Regions from separate parts of the Homo sapiens genome. Here all the other regions are linked to region 1. The links are contacts of gene promoters, found by promoter capture Hi-C in blood cells and fetal thymus (Javierre and others, 2016). All regions are on one chromosome and are shown on one strand. The core of a region is centred on a gene start or on the middle of the fragment in contact, and the rest is flanking DNA. Distances in the headings are between cores, read along the strand shown. Region 1 holds the start of GABARAPL1 (GABA type A receptor associated protein like 1). Region 2 has its middle 29 kb from the start of CLEC2D. Region 3 has its middle 6.2 kb from the start of LINC02366.

Region 1 (4,701 bases), core at 779-3,278:
GAATGCACATAAATATTTATCTATTTCCAATACTTAACAGTGTAAAGTCCACAGCACGTCATTAATTCTGGTTAATACAACTATATTAGAAACTGAGAAACAATATGGCATGGAGGTTAAGATACCCGAGAGCTCCACAGTCCTTCAGACAGGGTTGGAATTCCAGCTCAACCACAGATCAGCAATGTGAAACCTTTAGGAAGTTACTGCATTTCTTTGTGCTTTGAATACTCCATCTGTAGAACGGGTAATCGTGTAAGGAAGTAAGTCAATGATTACAGACTGAGTACTTATAATACCGCTAGGGTAAACTATCAATAAAACTTGATTGTATTTTTTAAATATCATTGCTCAAAAGATTGGTATCACCAGAACTGGGCAAAATTTTCAGGTATCCAAGGTCCAGAAACCAGGAAAGTAATTTGTAAAGGATCCTTTCCCGAGTAAGGGATTAGCTCACCCCTCTATAAGCTGAAAACCTTTTTGTAATTCCTGGGGAATGAAGAGCCCTAATGACTTTTTTTTCTTTTTAAAGGAAAAGGGTTACAAGAGGTTTCTACTGCTGGGCTAAGGCCCTGGTGGCTTCTGGTAGCTATAAAACCACGAACGTTAGGTAAGGATTAGAGAAGAAACCCAGAGTGGCTGTGAGTCAAGAAAAGACATCAGATAACAGCAATTATTTTACCATTATGTGACACGTAATACTAATGTTCCTACCTGAAGATAAAGAGCACAATTTTAAAATCTCCGCTCCTCCATTTCCAAAATCCAACAGCTGCTGGTCCCCCTACCACTTAAGCCATATTCTGCCCTCCAATTCGGCTGCGCAGCCTGCATTAGAGAAACACCAGGCAAGTGGGCGGGGGAGGGGGTAATGGGGAAAACGCCCGGATGCTGAAAGATACCTAATACTTTTCTGTTCCTACTCACTGCCTGCGGTAGTTTTAACTACTTAAGCCGGTGTCCAAAACGGAGAAAAAACGTCTCAGTCCTGCCTTATCGCGACCAGGTACCAGGTGATCAGAAATCAACACGAGGAGGCTGGCTGTCCCCACACAAGCCCCGGAGCCTAGAACGATGAGGCAAGAGGGCTGTTGGGCAGAGAACGTGACCTTGTTTTCCAGGCCAGGACTGTCTTGTGCTCCCCTAACCCCCTGTAATGCAAGAAAATTACTGAATAGCTTCTGAACCTTTTCGTCCCAAGACCAATGATATGAGAGCCAAAGTCAACTTCATTAAAGGAGAACCAGCCAAGGCAGAAATCGACTGGGTTTGCGCAAACCTCACCGCACAGCACAATGTCCCTGCGTTCTTAAAGGCAGCCAATCCATGGCCCCGATCTAACCAGTCTCGCCCACAGGGGCCCTATTTTGTGCACCGCAACCCACACACGGTCTCAGCTGCTGAGACCGTGTGTGGGTTGCTGAGTCACTGAAGACGGCGGCTCGGCCCCCAAAACGCCGTCAGCCCTGAAGTGGGGTTCGGGGCCCAGGCATACGGGGTTTTAAAAGCTCTACAGTCTGGACGTCCATTGGCTCTGGCACTGAAGGGCGTTCAGGATTAAGTAATTCTCGGAACCTCCCTTCTCCAGAGCCGCCTGGGCGCCCCAGGGAAGCCATCTCGACTACCCGCCCCCGCCCCCGCGGGCCCTTCCCCTCCCATCCCCTCCGCTCCTCTACACTCACGGGGACCCTGTCCGGATATTTCTTCCGGATCTTTTCTCCTTCCTTTTTCCGATACTCAAAGGGATGGTCCTCCTTGTACTGGAACTTCATGATGCACCGCAGGGCTTCCGAGATCCCCGCGCGGGGCCTGCCTCCTTCGCCGCTGACCCTGTCCCGCTCCCTCAGCCGACGTCAAGGTGTGCTCAGAATAGCTGCAGAAACGTCCGCTCCGGGGGCAACAGCGCTGGGCCGAGTGTGCAGGGGGGGTTCGGGGCGGGGATCTCGGGTGAGCCTGCCTGGAGGTAGAGGAGAGCCAGATGGAGAAATACCGGCGGCTTTTCGCTAGAGCTGGGAGCACAAAAACAGCTGGGTGGCGCGTCGGGCTGTGACGTCACCCCGCGAGCCCCGCCCCGCCCCCCATGCGCCAGGCGCCCAGGGCAGGGGGTGGCCGAGCGCTCTGTCTCACTGCGTTTCCTTTCTGGCTAACCTTTTTCACAATCGATGTCACTGCAAACATCAAAACATTCGAGTTATGTTTTATTTTGTGACTGTGAAATTAAAGATGGTTTTAAGACAAAAAAAAGATTTAAACATGTTTTATTCCCCCTCCACTGTTTTTCTTGGTTGGGCCCCAAAACAAATACAAAAGGCGAAAATCCAGCCTTTTCCTGCTGGTTGGGATCCAGCCTCAGGAGAAAAGAGGGCCAGGCCTCCTGGGATCCCTTTGGCCAATGCAGAGCTGTCCCGTGCTTGCACCGTGCCCTCTGCGCGTTCCGCTGCCCCTCCCGCGGCCCTCCTCCCGCGCTGGCGTCACAGTGTTTGGGCGGTGCCGCAGTTCGCTCCTGAACAGCAACATAAACAGAGCGTGACTCAGGAATCTGAAGAGAGGAGTCAGATGAAGGACACGGAGTGTAATCAAAGTCTAAAGGAGACATGATGTCAGTAAGGACTACCGAGGGCTTCACGTACAATCAAATATAGAAATGATTCACTTTCTAGCCGGGCGCGGTGGCTCACGCCTGTAATCCCAGGAGGCCGAGGCGGGCGGATCACCTGAGGTCAGGAGTTCGAGACCAGCCTGACCAACATGGAGAAACCCTGTCTCTACTAAAAATACAAAATTAGCTGGGCGTGGTGGCGCATGGCTGTAATCCCAGCTACTCTGGAGGCTGAGGCAGGAGAACCGCTCTAACCCGGGAGGCGGAGGTTGCGGCGAGCGGAGATCACGGCGTCGCACTCCAGCCTGGGCAACAAGAGCGAAACACCGTCTTACAGAAAAAGAAAGGAAGGGAGGGAGGGAGGGATTCACTTTCTGCCATAAACTCAGAAAGGGGGCTCGTCTTCTGGAAAAGAGAGTATCAAGCAATTTAGGTGATGACCTCAGTTGTTCCCCCACATCTTATTTAGTTCCAGTGGTTAGGTATCCCTCACGTGACTAGAAAGCGCTGCCTGGAATGCTAGTAGAAGATTGGGCATTAGGGCAGGTGAGGCGAAGCCTCGTTCTGGATTTCCCCACCTAGAGTCAAAGAAGAAAGACCTTCCAACCAGTACTGTAGGGCAGCGACAGGGAGGACTGTGGAGTTTGCAAAGAAAAAGAACAGTGAAAAGGGGCTGCGTTGCCCATACAAGTCGGGTGAGTTCTGATAAATATTAGATAACAGCAGCCCCGTGGCCTATCTTCTTCAGTCGGGGTCTCAGTGTCTCTAATTTTAAAAACACCCACAGGGGGCCAGGCGCGGTGGCTCACGTCTGTTCTCCCAGCACTTTGGGAGGCCCAGGCCGAGGATCGCTTGAGCTCAGGAGTTCAAGACCAGCCTGGGTAACATGGCAAAACCCTGTCTCTACAGAAAAAACAAAAATTAACAAGGCATGGTGGCGCGCTCCTACAGTCTCAGCTACTGTGGAGGCTAAGGCAGGAGAATCGCTTGAATCCGGGAGGCAGTGGCTGCAGTGAGCTGAGATCGCCCACTGTACTCCAGCCTGGGAGAGAGAGCAAGACTCTGTCTCAAAAAGAATAAATAAATAAAAATAGGCCGGGCGCGTTGGCTCATGCTTGTAATCCCAGCACTTTGGGAGGCCAAGGTGGGTGGATCACGAGGTCAAGAGATAGAGACCATCCTGGCCAACATGAGACGAGTGAAACCCCGTCTCTACTAATAATACAGAAAAAATTAGCTGAGCCTGGTGGCGCTCGCCTGTAGTCCCCAGCTACTCGAGAGCCTGAGGCAGGAGAATCACTTGAACCCGGAAGGGAGAACCCGGGAGGGTTTAACTATATTTGCATCAAAACTAAAATGAGGCCGGGCGCAGTGGCTCACGACTGTAATCCCAGCACTTTGGGAGGCGGAGGTGGGTGGATCACGAGGTCAGGAGATCGAGACCATCCTGGCTAGCACGTGAAACCCCGCCTCTACTAAAAATACAAAAAAATTAGCCGGGCGTGGTAGCGGGAGCTTGCAGTGAGCCAAGATCGTGTCACTGCATTCCAGCCTGGGCGACAGAGCTAGACTCTGTCTAAAAAAAAAAAAAAAAACCTAACATGAGCGACTGAAAATTAAACTGTTTTCAATTTGAAAGTAAGACTTAAAATTATAAACATATAATGTGATAAAATAACTCATGGATTTTATTTATTTTATTTATTTATTTGATATGGAGTTTCTCTCTTGTCGCCCAGGCTGGAGTGCAATGGCTCCATCTAGGCTCTCTGCAACCTCTGCCTCCTGGATTCAAGCAATTTTCTCCGGCCTCGTCCTCCTGAGTAGCTGGGATTACAAGGCGCCCGCCACCGCGCCCAGCTAATTTTTTTGTATTTTTAGTAGAGACGAGGTTTTGCCATGCTGCCAGGCTGGTCTCGAACTCCTGACCTCAGGTGATTCGCCCGTCTCGGCCTCCCAAAGTGCTAGGGTTACAGGTACTAGCCACCGCGCCCTGCCCTCATGAATTTTTATACATAAAGATTGAAAGATGCCATGAAGAAAAATACATGAAGAAGTGGGACTATGTGATTCGTTTTCTGGTGCCAGTAATGAAACTT
Region 2 (4,701 bases), core at 806-3,305, 570 kb after region 1:
ATCTTCAACTGTGACTCTACCCTTTTGGTTTCATCGCATCTTTGCATACTACAGTGAAGGCTCCTACACGCTCACAATATAAGCCCATGTTCTTGGCATATGATTGGCAGAGACAAACATTAATGCCCTGTTCAAAGAAGTGGTGCACAGCCCGGGCATCCTTATCACCATCACCACTGGTAAAGCCTTGGTAGGCTATGTCAAAGAAGGCAAAGAGACTCTTCTTCTTCACCATTGTTGCTGTATCCTTCCACTGTTCCAGACCTGGGTCCACTCCCGTGGGATTGTGGGTGCAGGCATGCAGAAGAACAACATTTTGCTCTGGTATTTTTGAAAGGCCCTCCACAGCGCCTGTGAAGTCAAAATCGCAAGTCTTGGGGTCATAAAGCCGATAACCTTGTAGCTGCATGCCAGTGTCCCTGAAGATGGGCGTGTGATTTCCCCAGCTTGGTTTGGGCAGAAAGACATCTCAGCTGAACTTAAAAAATCTTTGCAGAAAGCTGGCTCCAATCCTTAAGGCTCCAGTTCCAGAAATGGTCTGCACAATGACAAACCGGCCACTTTTCAAGACTTCGCTGTTCTCACCAAGGGCTAGTTCTGCAGATGCCTTGCAAAATTCAGCCAGTCCCCCAGTGGACAGGTATTCCTTGTCCAAACTTTTTGTGGCAATCTGGGCCTCTGCCTTGGGGACGCTAGGCAGCACGTCCAAGGCTTTCCGTTATCATCCCGGTAGGCACCAACTCCCAGATTCATCTTTTTGCTATTGGTGTCCCTCTTAAAGTCTTCAATGACTGCCAGGATGATATCTGGAGGTCCCATTTCCACATGGGTCCATCAGGAGCTGGCTCTGGCAGAGGCCGCAGCTGCGAGGCCCAGGTGGAAGGTGGCAGCGATCCCAGAGAGGACGCAGCCAGAGTGCAGCAGGGCCACGGTGGACAGTAGGAGGGCAGTGGGCAGCTGCAGGACTGAGCAGAGGGCTCTCTGTAGTGTTTTAATTGCGAGAGACGATTTGTGAGGCTGATCTGAAGCTGTAGCCAATCTGGTCTGCTTTGCATGTCTTTCTGTATGGTCCATAGCAAATTTGCTGAGGACCTCCATCTTGTTTAACATCCTTGGGAGCAAGACCTGTAACCACTTGGCAAGGTTTTGTGTAGCCTCTGTGTAGCTTGGATTCAATCCTGGCTTAGGGAATGAGTCTTACCTGGTTTGATATCTGCATGACCTTTTGCTATTTGTTGATTCCATTTCTCTCCATGAACTGCCTTGGATTTTCCTTTCTCTGAGCCTTTAGTAAAGTTTGAAAGCCAGAAATATTGGCCACTTGGTGTGGCTAAATTCAGATAATAAGGGAGTTAAGAGGAATTTCTTAAGGAGTGCTCAGCTTAACTAAAAGTGGATATCCAAGTTAGAGTCATATTTAAAAGGTTTCCCTTTTCTTGGACCTTGTTTTGCTGGGAAAAGGTTTTTCTTGGTCAACTGAATTATTTTTTCTTCATTTTGCTTTGCCACTTTTTTAATGCACGCACAAGAGAGGAGAGACCTCTTTTTTTTCTCATGGACTCCAGAAATTAAAAGCACCCAGAGGCCAATAATCCAATTAGGAGATTGGCAAATGAAAGATCTTATGGGGACCGGGTTATCTTCTACCTGTCTGTGTAATTCTATATGTGTTGTGTGTGTGATGTTTACATAAAAAAAAGAGCTCTAATTAATTTTGCCTAAAGGAAGACAAGCACTTGGATCAAATATTTTATGAAAGAGAAGATAAAAAGCTGTGGTACCTTTCAGTTCACGTGACTTTAATCTTGGAGAAATAAAAACAGCCTTAAAGATTATTGGTAAAAAGCAGATGTCATAAAAATGTAAATAGGTGGACTAAATTATGCAGGTCAGATACTAGGTTGGCAAAATATTTTAAGGTCATAAACTGCTTTTTTGGTTTTTGAGAACTTTTCAATTTGCTGGCTTCACAATTGGCAAGGCCTGGGGACACATGGAACTAAACACTCCCTTAATTATGTTGGAAGGAGTCAAACCTTGGCTGCATCTAGCACATAATCAAAACAACTTACCAGGTTTTACATTAAAGTTAAAAACTGCTAAAAGTTACCATTATGACATGTAATTGAGACTATTGGAAATAGATTTACATGCAAGGTGCATAAGGACAGTGAAATGTGTTTTTAATAAAGATTATAAGAAATCATAAAAATGTAAATTCCTGCCTAGGGTTGAAGATTTGTTTTAAATTAGATAAGATAAAGCTAAAAGTTCAAACAACTGGTGGAAGGATTGTAAAAATTAATCTTGCAACAAATTCTCTGTGTGAACATATTGACTAACTTCAAAAAGTATTGTATGATTTTTCTGTAAATTGAGCATTCAAATAAAAGCACAGCAAGGTATCCTTAAGGCACTAATCTGCTCGTCAGCAAAATTTGTATGAAAGGGCTGTACAAGGTTTTTTCTTTAAAAAAATTTCTTAGTTGTTATTTCAGCAAAATAAATAACTTATGGTAATCCGGAATTCTATTTCATAACAGCAAGTATTTTAAGCCTCTAATATATTTAATAGGCTTTCCAAAATCAAACTTCAGTTTCAAAATTGTCTTTTCTGACACCTGGCTTTTCAGATACTTCAGAGGGCCCCTGGAGTGTTCAGAAAAGAAAGGTAAACAGGATTATGTGACACGTTTAGGTACATGGGATTGCCAAAATGGTATTCAGTCTTCTTTAGGTCATATTTTGGTGAATAATACTAATATGTGTTCCAAAATTGTATGGAATTTCTAAAATTCTAATGTCTAAAGAATATCCTATCAATCATAATTAAAGTTGTTAAGTTATTGTAAACTACAGAGATAACAAAACTTTGTCAATTGTGTTTCTAACTGTAACTACCCTGGACATATTGTTATTCACAGACAATTGTTGTTTTAATCTTTTTCAAAAGATGGTTTATAATAAGCTAGAGAACTTTTACAAGTGCTCTCAGATACAGGTTTCTCATACCTTTGGGGATTGTGACATTGGAATAAAGGAAAAATGTACAGAACTCATGAAGAGCTAAAATGTTCATAAATATCAAGCAAAATAAGGGTTAACTGGGTGAACTCAAAAAAATGAAGCAATCTTTCTCAATTTTGCTTGGATATTGCTGATCCTTGTTTTGTTTTTTAGAGTCAAGAAAACATATTTTGAACTATTTATAGCCTTTAATCATTGAGTAGAGTATACTCCTGTGAACAAAATTTGGAGTATATTTGCTTCTCTCTGCCTGGTTCCTGTAGAATTTGGAAATTATCTGTGAGTATTCTTAACTTACAGCAATATACTTGTTTGCATCAGTGCAGTAAAAATCCATTTTCTTTTGCAACAGGATGCAATTGGAGTAACTGGTTGTTTTACCAAGGCTTTGACTGGAAGGGTATGCTTCTCTTTAAGGAGTCAAGCTCAACTTGCAGAGCCAATAAAAGTCCCTTGGGGAAGGCCGGGCGTGGTGGCTCACACCTGTAATCCCAGCACTCTGGGAGGCCAAGGCGGGCGGATCACCTGAGGTTGGGAGTTTGAGACCAGCCTGACAAACATGGAGAAACCCCATCTCCACTAAAAATACAAAATTGGCCATGTATGGTGACACATGCCTGTAGTCCCAGCTACTCGGGAGACTGAGGCAAGAGAATTGCTTGAAGCCGGGAGGCAGCGGTTGCGGTGAGCCAAGATTGTGCCATTGCACTCCAGCCTGGACAACAAGAGTGAGACTCTCTCAAAAAAAAAAAAAAAAAAAAAAAAAAAAAAAAGTCCCTTGAGGAAACTGGTCTCAGAGCCTTGTCTATGCAGTTCCTGTACAGGGTTCATGACCTGTGATCAGTAAAGAATGTCACTTTCTAACAGGCCCAGGAGCTCCAAGTTTATCTTGGAACCTTAAGACAAGAGGATTACCCAACTCACAGGTATTTGAGGATACAAATACATGTCTGGGCGTGGCTTTAAAAGATCTTATTTGAGATTACTTGTGGAACAGCATTCCATCAAAGCCAATCAAAAGGCCTATGTAGAAATAATTATTTTTGCTGCACTTTATGCAAATAATCAGGCCAAGTATAAGACTAAATTCAATTTTGCAAACAACTGAGTCCTATCATGATTTGTGTTTTTAACAAAAATGAGGACTGGAGAGAGAGAAATTATGTTTCAAAATTTATCATACATTTGTCTTAAAATTCTAAACTCATTAGTTGTTTTTCAGTTTTTGCCTACATTTTCAGACTAACCCTGCTTGTTCCTGTGAACCAACCAGTGATCTCTGTGTGCAGCTCAGAAAGAACAAACAGGATGGGTAATGTAGAAATCTGGATCAATATTCTAGTTCTGAGCAATTATCCTGCAAATCCTACCAGGTGATGGGAATAAATAGGTTGCCCATCACTCAGAGGGTTTTTCTGGGGGGGAGGTGGGGGAAAGTAAGACCAAGGGAGCTAACCAAAGCCAAGCAACATGCACCCAAATCCTAGGAAGCATAACTATAGCCACCAGTTATCTAGGCATGTCACTGGACATCCTTTTCTCTCCCTTGTTGGAAGAGGACTCAATTCCACAGCTTCACTTTAGCATTTGGTTTATGATAAGGAGTCCATGCAACCCACTCCAAGATGCATTTTTGTCCCAAACTTAATTCCAAGTTTTGAGTCAAAGGCCTAG
Region 3 (4,701 bases), core at 729-3,228, 530 kb before region 1:
CTAAATGCCCACAAGAGAAAGCAGGAAAGATCTAAAATCGACACCCTAACATCACAATTAAAAGAACTAGAGAAGCAAGAACAAAGAAATTCAAAAGCTAGCAGAAGGCAAGAAATGACTAAGATCAGAGCAGAACTGAAGGAAATAGAGACACAACAAAACCCTTCAAAAAAATCAATGAATCCAGGAGCTGGTTTTTTGAAAAGATTAACAAAACTGATAGGCCGGTAACAAGACTAATAAAGAAGAAGAAAGAGAAGAATCAAATAGATGCAATAAAAAATGATAAAGGGGATATTACCACTGATCCCACAGAAATACAAACTACCATCAGAGAATACTATAAACATCTCTACGCAAAGAAACTAGAAAATCTAGAAGAAATGGATAAATTCCTGGACACACACACCTTCCCAAGACTAAACCAGGAAGAAGTTGAATCCCTGAATAGACCAATAACAGGCTCTGAAATTGAGGCAATAATTAATAGCCTACCAACCAAAAAAAGTCCAGAACCAGACAGATTCACAGCCAAATTCTACTAGAGGTACAAAGAGGAGCTGGTACCATTCCTTCTGAAACTATTCCAATCAATAGAAAAAGAAGGAATCCTCCCTAACTCATTTTATGAGGCCGGCATCATCCTGATACCAAAGCCTGACAGAGACGCAACAAAAAAAGAGAATTTTAGGCCAATATCCCTGATGAACATCGATGAGAAAATCCTCAATAAAATACCGGCAAACCGAATCCAGCAGCACATCAAAAAGGTTATCCACCAAGATCAAGTTGGCTTTGTCCCTGGGATGCAAAGCTGGTTCAACATATGCAAATCAATAAACATAATCTATCACATAAACAGAACCAAAGATAAAAAGCACATGATTATCTCAATAGATGCAGAAAAGGTCTTTGACAAAATTCAACAGCGCTTCATGATAAAAACTCTCAATAAGTTAGATATTGATGGAACGTATCTCCAAATAATAAGAGCTATTGATGACAAATCCACTGCCAATATCATATTGAATGTGCAAAAACTGGAAGCATTCCCTTTGAAAACTGGCACAAGACAGGCATGCCCTCTCTCACCACTCCTATTAAAATAGTGTTGGAAGTTCTGGCCAGGGCAATCAGGCAAGAGAAAGAAATAAAGAGTATTCAATTAGGAAAAGAGGAAGTCAAATTGTCCCTGTTTACAGATGGCATGATTATATACTTAGAAAACCCCACTGTCTCAGCCCAAAATCTCCTTAAGCTGATAAGCAACTTCGGCAAAGTCTCAGGATACAAAATCAATGTGCAAAAATCACAAGCATTACTATACACCAGTAACAGACAAACAGAGAGCCAAATCACGAGTAAACTCCCATTCACAATTGCTACAAAGAGAATAAAATACCTAGGAATCCAACTTACAAGGGATGTGAAGGACCTCTTCAAGGAGAACTACAAACCAATGCTCAACAAAATAAAAGAGGACACAAACAAATGGAAGAACATTCCAGATTCATGGATAGGAAGAATCAATATTGTGAAAATGCACATACTGCCCAAGGTAATTTATAGATTCAATGCCATCTCCATCAAGCTACCAATGACTGGAAAAAACTACTTTAAAGTTCATATGGAAATAAAAAACAAGCCTGCATTGCCAAGACAATCCTAAGCAAAAAGAACAAAGCTGGAGGCATCACACTACCTGACTTCAAACTATACTACAAGGCTATAGTAACCAACACAGCATGATAGTGGTACCAAAACAGAGAGATAGACCAATGGAACAGTACAGGGGCCTCAGGAATAACAACACACATCTACAACCGTCAGATCTTTGACAAACCTGACAAAAACAAGAAATGGGGAAAGGATTCCCTATTTAATAAATGGTGCTGGGAAAACTGGCTAGCCATATGTAGAAAGCTGAAACTGGATCACTTCCTTACACCTTATACAAAAATTGATTCAAGATGGATTAAAGACTTAAATGTTAGACCTAAACCATAAAAACCCTAGAAGAAAACCTAGGCAATACCATTCAGGACATAGGCATGGGCGAGAACTTCATGACTAAAATACCAAAAGCAATGGCAACAAAAGCCAAAATTGACAAATGGGATCTAATCAAACTAAAGAGCTTCTGCACAGCAAAAGAAACTACCATCAGAGTGAACAGGCAACCTACAGAATGGGAGAAAATTTTTGCAACGTACCCATCTGACAAAGGGCTAATATCCAGAATCTACAAAGAACTCAAACAAATTTACAAGAAAAAAACAACCCCATCAAAAAGTGGGCAAAGAACAGACACTTCTCAAAAGAAGACATCTATGCAGCCAACAGACACATGAAAAAATGCTCATCATCACTAGCCATCAGAGAAATGCAAATCAAAACTACAATGAGATACCATCTCACACCACTTAGAATGGTGATCATTAAAAAGTCAGGAAACAACAGATGCTGGAGAGGATGTGGAGAAATAGGAATGCTTTTACACTGTTGGTGGGAGTGTAAGTTGGTTCAACCATTGTGGAAGACAGTGTGGCAATTCCTCAAGGATCTAGAACTAGAATTACCATTTGACCCAGCGATCCCATTACTGGGTATATACCAAAAGGATTATAAATAATGCTTCTATAAAGACACATACACACGAATGTTTATTGCGGCACTATTCATAACAGCAAAGACTTGGAACCAAACCAAATGTCCATCAATGATAGACTGGATTAAGAAAATGTGGCACATATACACCATGGAATACTATGCAGCCACAAAAAAGGATGAGTTCATATCCTTTGTAGGGACATGGATGAAGCTGGGAACCATCATTCTCAGCAAACTATCGCAAGGACAGAAAAGCAAACACTGCATGTTCTCACTCATAGATGGGAATTGAACAACGAGAACACTTGGACACAGGTTGCAGGACATCACACAGAGGGGCCTGTCGTGGGTGGGGGGATGGGGGAGGGATAGCATTAGGAGAAATACCTAATGTAAATGATGAGTTAATGGGTGCAGCAAACCAACATGGCACATGTTTACATATGTAACAAACCTGCATGTTGTGCCCATGTACCCTAGAACTTAAAGTATAATAGTAAAAAGAGACTTTAGCCTAGGGAAAATTAATAATAATAATAAAGCAGATGTAGCAAGGATATTTAATATCTTGATTAGAAGCAAGTCAGTGAATTTTTAAAATGACATTCTGAAGTTGTTTACAACCAACATTTATTATTATACTTAGCAAAAAAGAAAGGCAAAAGTTACCAATGCATTATAAGTGTAAGCTATTATCAAAAGCTAAATTACATGCTGCTTATGCCCTACATCAGTGCTTCCCAAACTACAGTACCCTCTAGAATTGCCTACAGGGCTTGTTAAAACATAGACTTCTGCCTGCCAGACACCTTCTTCCCCTTCAAATTTCCGATTCACTAGGTCTGGGGTATATGGTCCAAGAATTTGCATCTCTCGCAAATTCCCTGATGATGCAATGCTGCTGATCTGGGATTGCACTTTAAGAACTCTTGCTCTAAGCTCAGGACAGAGAAACCATTTCTAACTGACATTTTTCTAGGTTTATAAAGAGTTATACCAAACACAACCAAATGTAACAAAAACCAAAATCAAACAAATATATACAGCAAAATTTTTAACTGGCCTCCTTCTCAAGGTCCATTTACGATTTGGTACAATGGTGGTCTGGAGAGTTAAGAAATACATAGGTGCATTCACAAATGCCATCTACATACTCTCAAAGGTAAGTGAAAGCTCAAAAGCTGGAGTCAAGGCTAGTACTAGACAAAATGAAAAGGGAAAAAATATGTGCTCAAATTGTCACATGTTTGTGAAGGAGCATGGTATAAGGGAATTATTACAGCTTTGTTGCCAGGCCATCCAGTCTTTAAGATCTAGGTCTGCCATTTACTAAATATGGAATCTGAGGATTTACCTAACTCTCTGAGGACATTTGTTTGACTGTATCCTGGTTTTCTTAATACCTATTAAAAGTGATGTTGAGAACACTATCAGATAACATATACTAAAATGCCCAGTGCATAGAATATGTTATAATGTCTAGAACTCAGAGAAGGCACCATACATTACTTTAGGGTCCTATTATGTGCAAGGAACTCAATTAGGTTACTTAATCCTTACAAAAGTTTTTTCAGTCATCATCATCATAACCATCATTATTCCTATTTTGCAAACAAAAGAAACAGAACTACAAGATCATCTAGGCAAAAATTCAAAGTCAAACCCACAGTAGTTTCAAGCCAAATGTTTCTACAAATGTTTCTACAAAGTTGAGTTATCTTATACCTCTTATAGTTCCCATTTCAAGTTCCCTGGCAGTTATGAAACAGAGGTTTCATTGCAGAATAACTTCCTCATTTTGTCAATATTCCATGCCTTGCCCTCTTTAGCTTTACTTTTTTCTAAGTAATGATCACTACTTTTATTTATTATTCCATCAGGACCTTGTTGGCAGACCTAATTCAGCAAATGTAAGATGCAGGAAAGTTTATTTTGGGTAACTTATCTCCATTTTTTCTTTCATCATTCCAATAATTCTTTAGTGTTTCTGCTCTTAGATTTGTTCCCAGAGGGAGGGTGGGATCTGACCTTGAACTTCCACAAAATAGATTCTCATCTTCTCTCACTATTTATTCAACACAACAGAGGCTG

The links. The method cuts DNA at HindIII sites, captures the fragments that hold promoters and counts their contacts. A CHiCAGO score of 5 or more calls a contact.
Region 2: a contact is called between a fragment that was not itself captured here and the fragment with the promoter of GABARAPL1 in region 1, in 1 of 17 cell types (neutrophils). The highest score is 5.1, in neutrophils.
Region 3: a fragment that was not itself captured here is called in contact with the fragment with the promoter of GABARAPL1 in region 1 in 2 of 17 cell types (naive CD8 T cells and total CD8 T cells); the score reaches 8.6 in naive CD8 T cells.

The regions. Positions count from the first base shown.
Region 1 is chr12:10,210,204-10,214,904 of GRCh38, reverse strand. It overlaps GABARAPL1 (GABA type A receptor associated protein like 1), which reads right to left and starts at 2,028. Exons shown (of 4, transcript NM_031412.4): 1 at 1,686-2,028. The coding sequence starts at 1,775. It overlaps GABARAPL1-AS1 (GABARAPL1 antisense RNA 1), which reads left to right. Exons shown (of 3, transcript NR_170310.1): 1 at 1-263; 2 at 536-851; 3 at 943-1,256. RefSeq lists a silencer at 1,896-2,155 and an enhancer at 2,249-2,791. The HindIII fragment of the contact is 15,130 bases long and covers 1-4,701 here.
Region 2 is chr12:9,637,947-9,642,647 of GRCh38, reverse strand. It overlaps the pseudogene LOC374443 and the pseudogene GOT2P3. Among named protein-coding and RNA genes, the nearest start is that of CLEC2D, 29 kb to the left of the region's middle. The HindIII fragment of the contact is 5,494 bases long and covers 1-4,701 here.
Region 3 is chr12:10,741,705-10,746,405 of GRCh38, reverse strand. No RefSeq gene overlaps it. Among named protein-coding and RNA genes, the nearest start is that of LINC02366, 6.2 kb to the left of the region's middle. The HindIII fragment of the contact is 6,352 bases long and covers 1-4,701 here.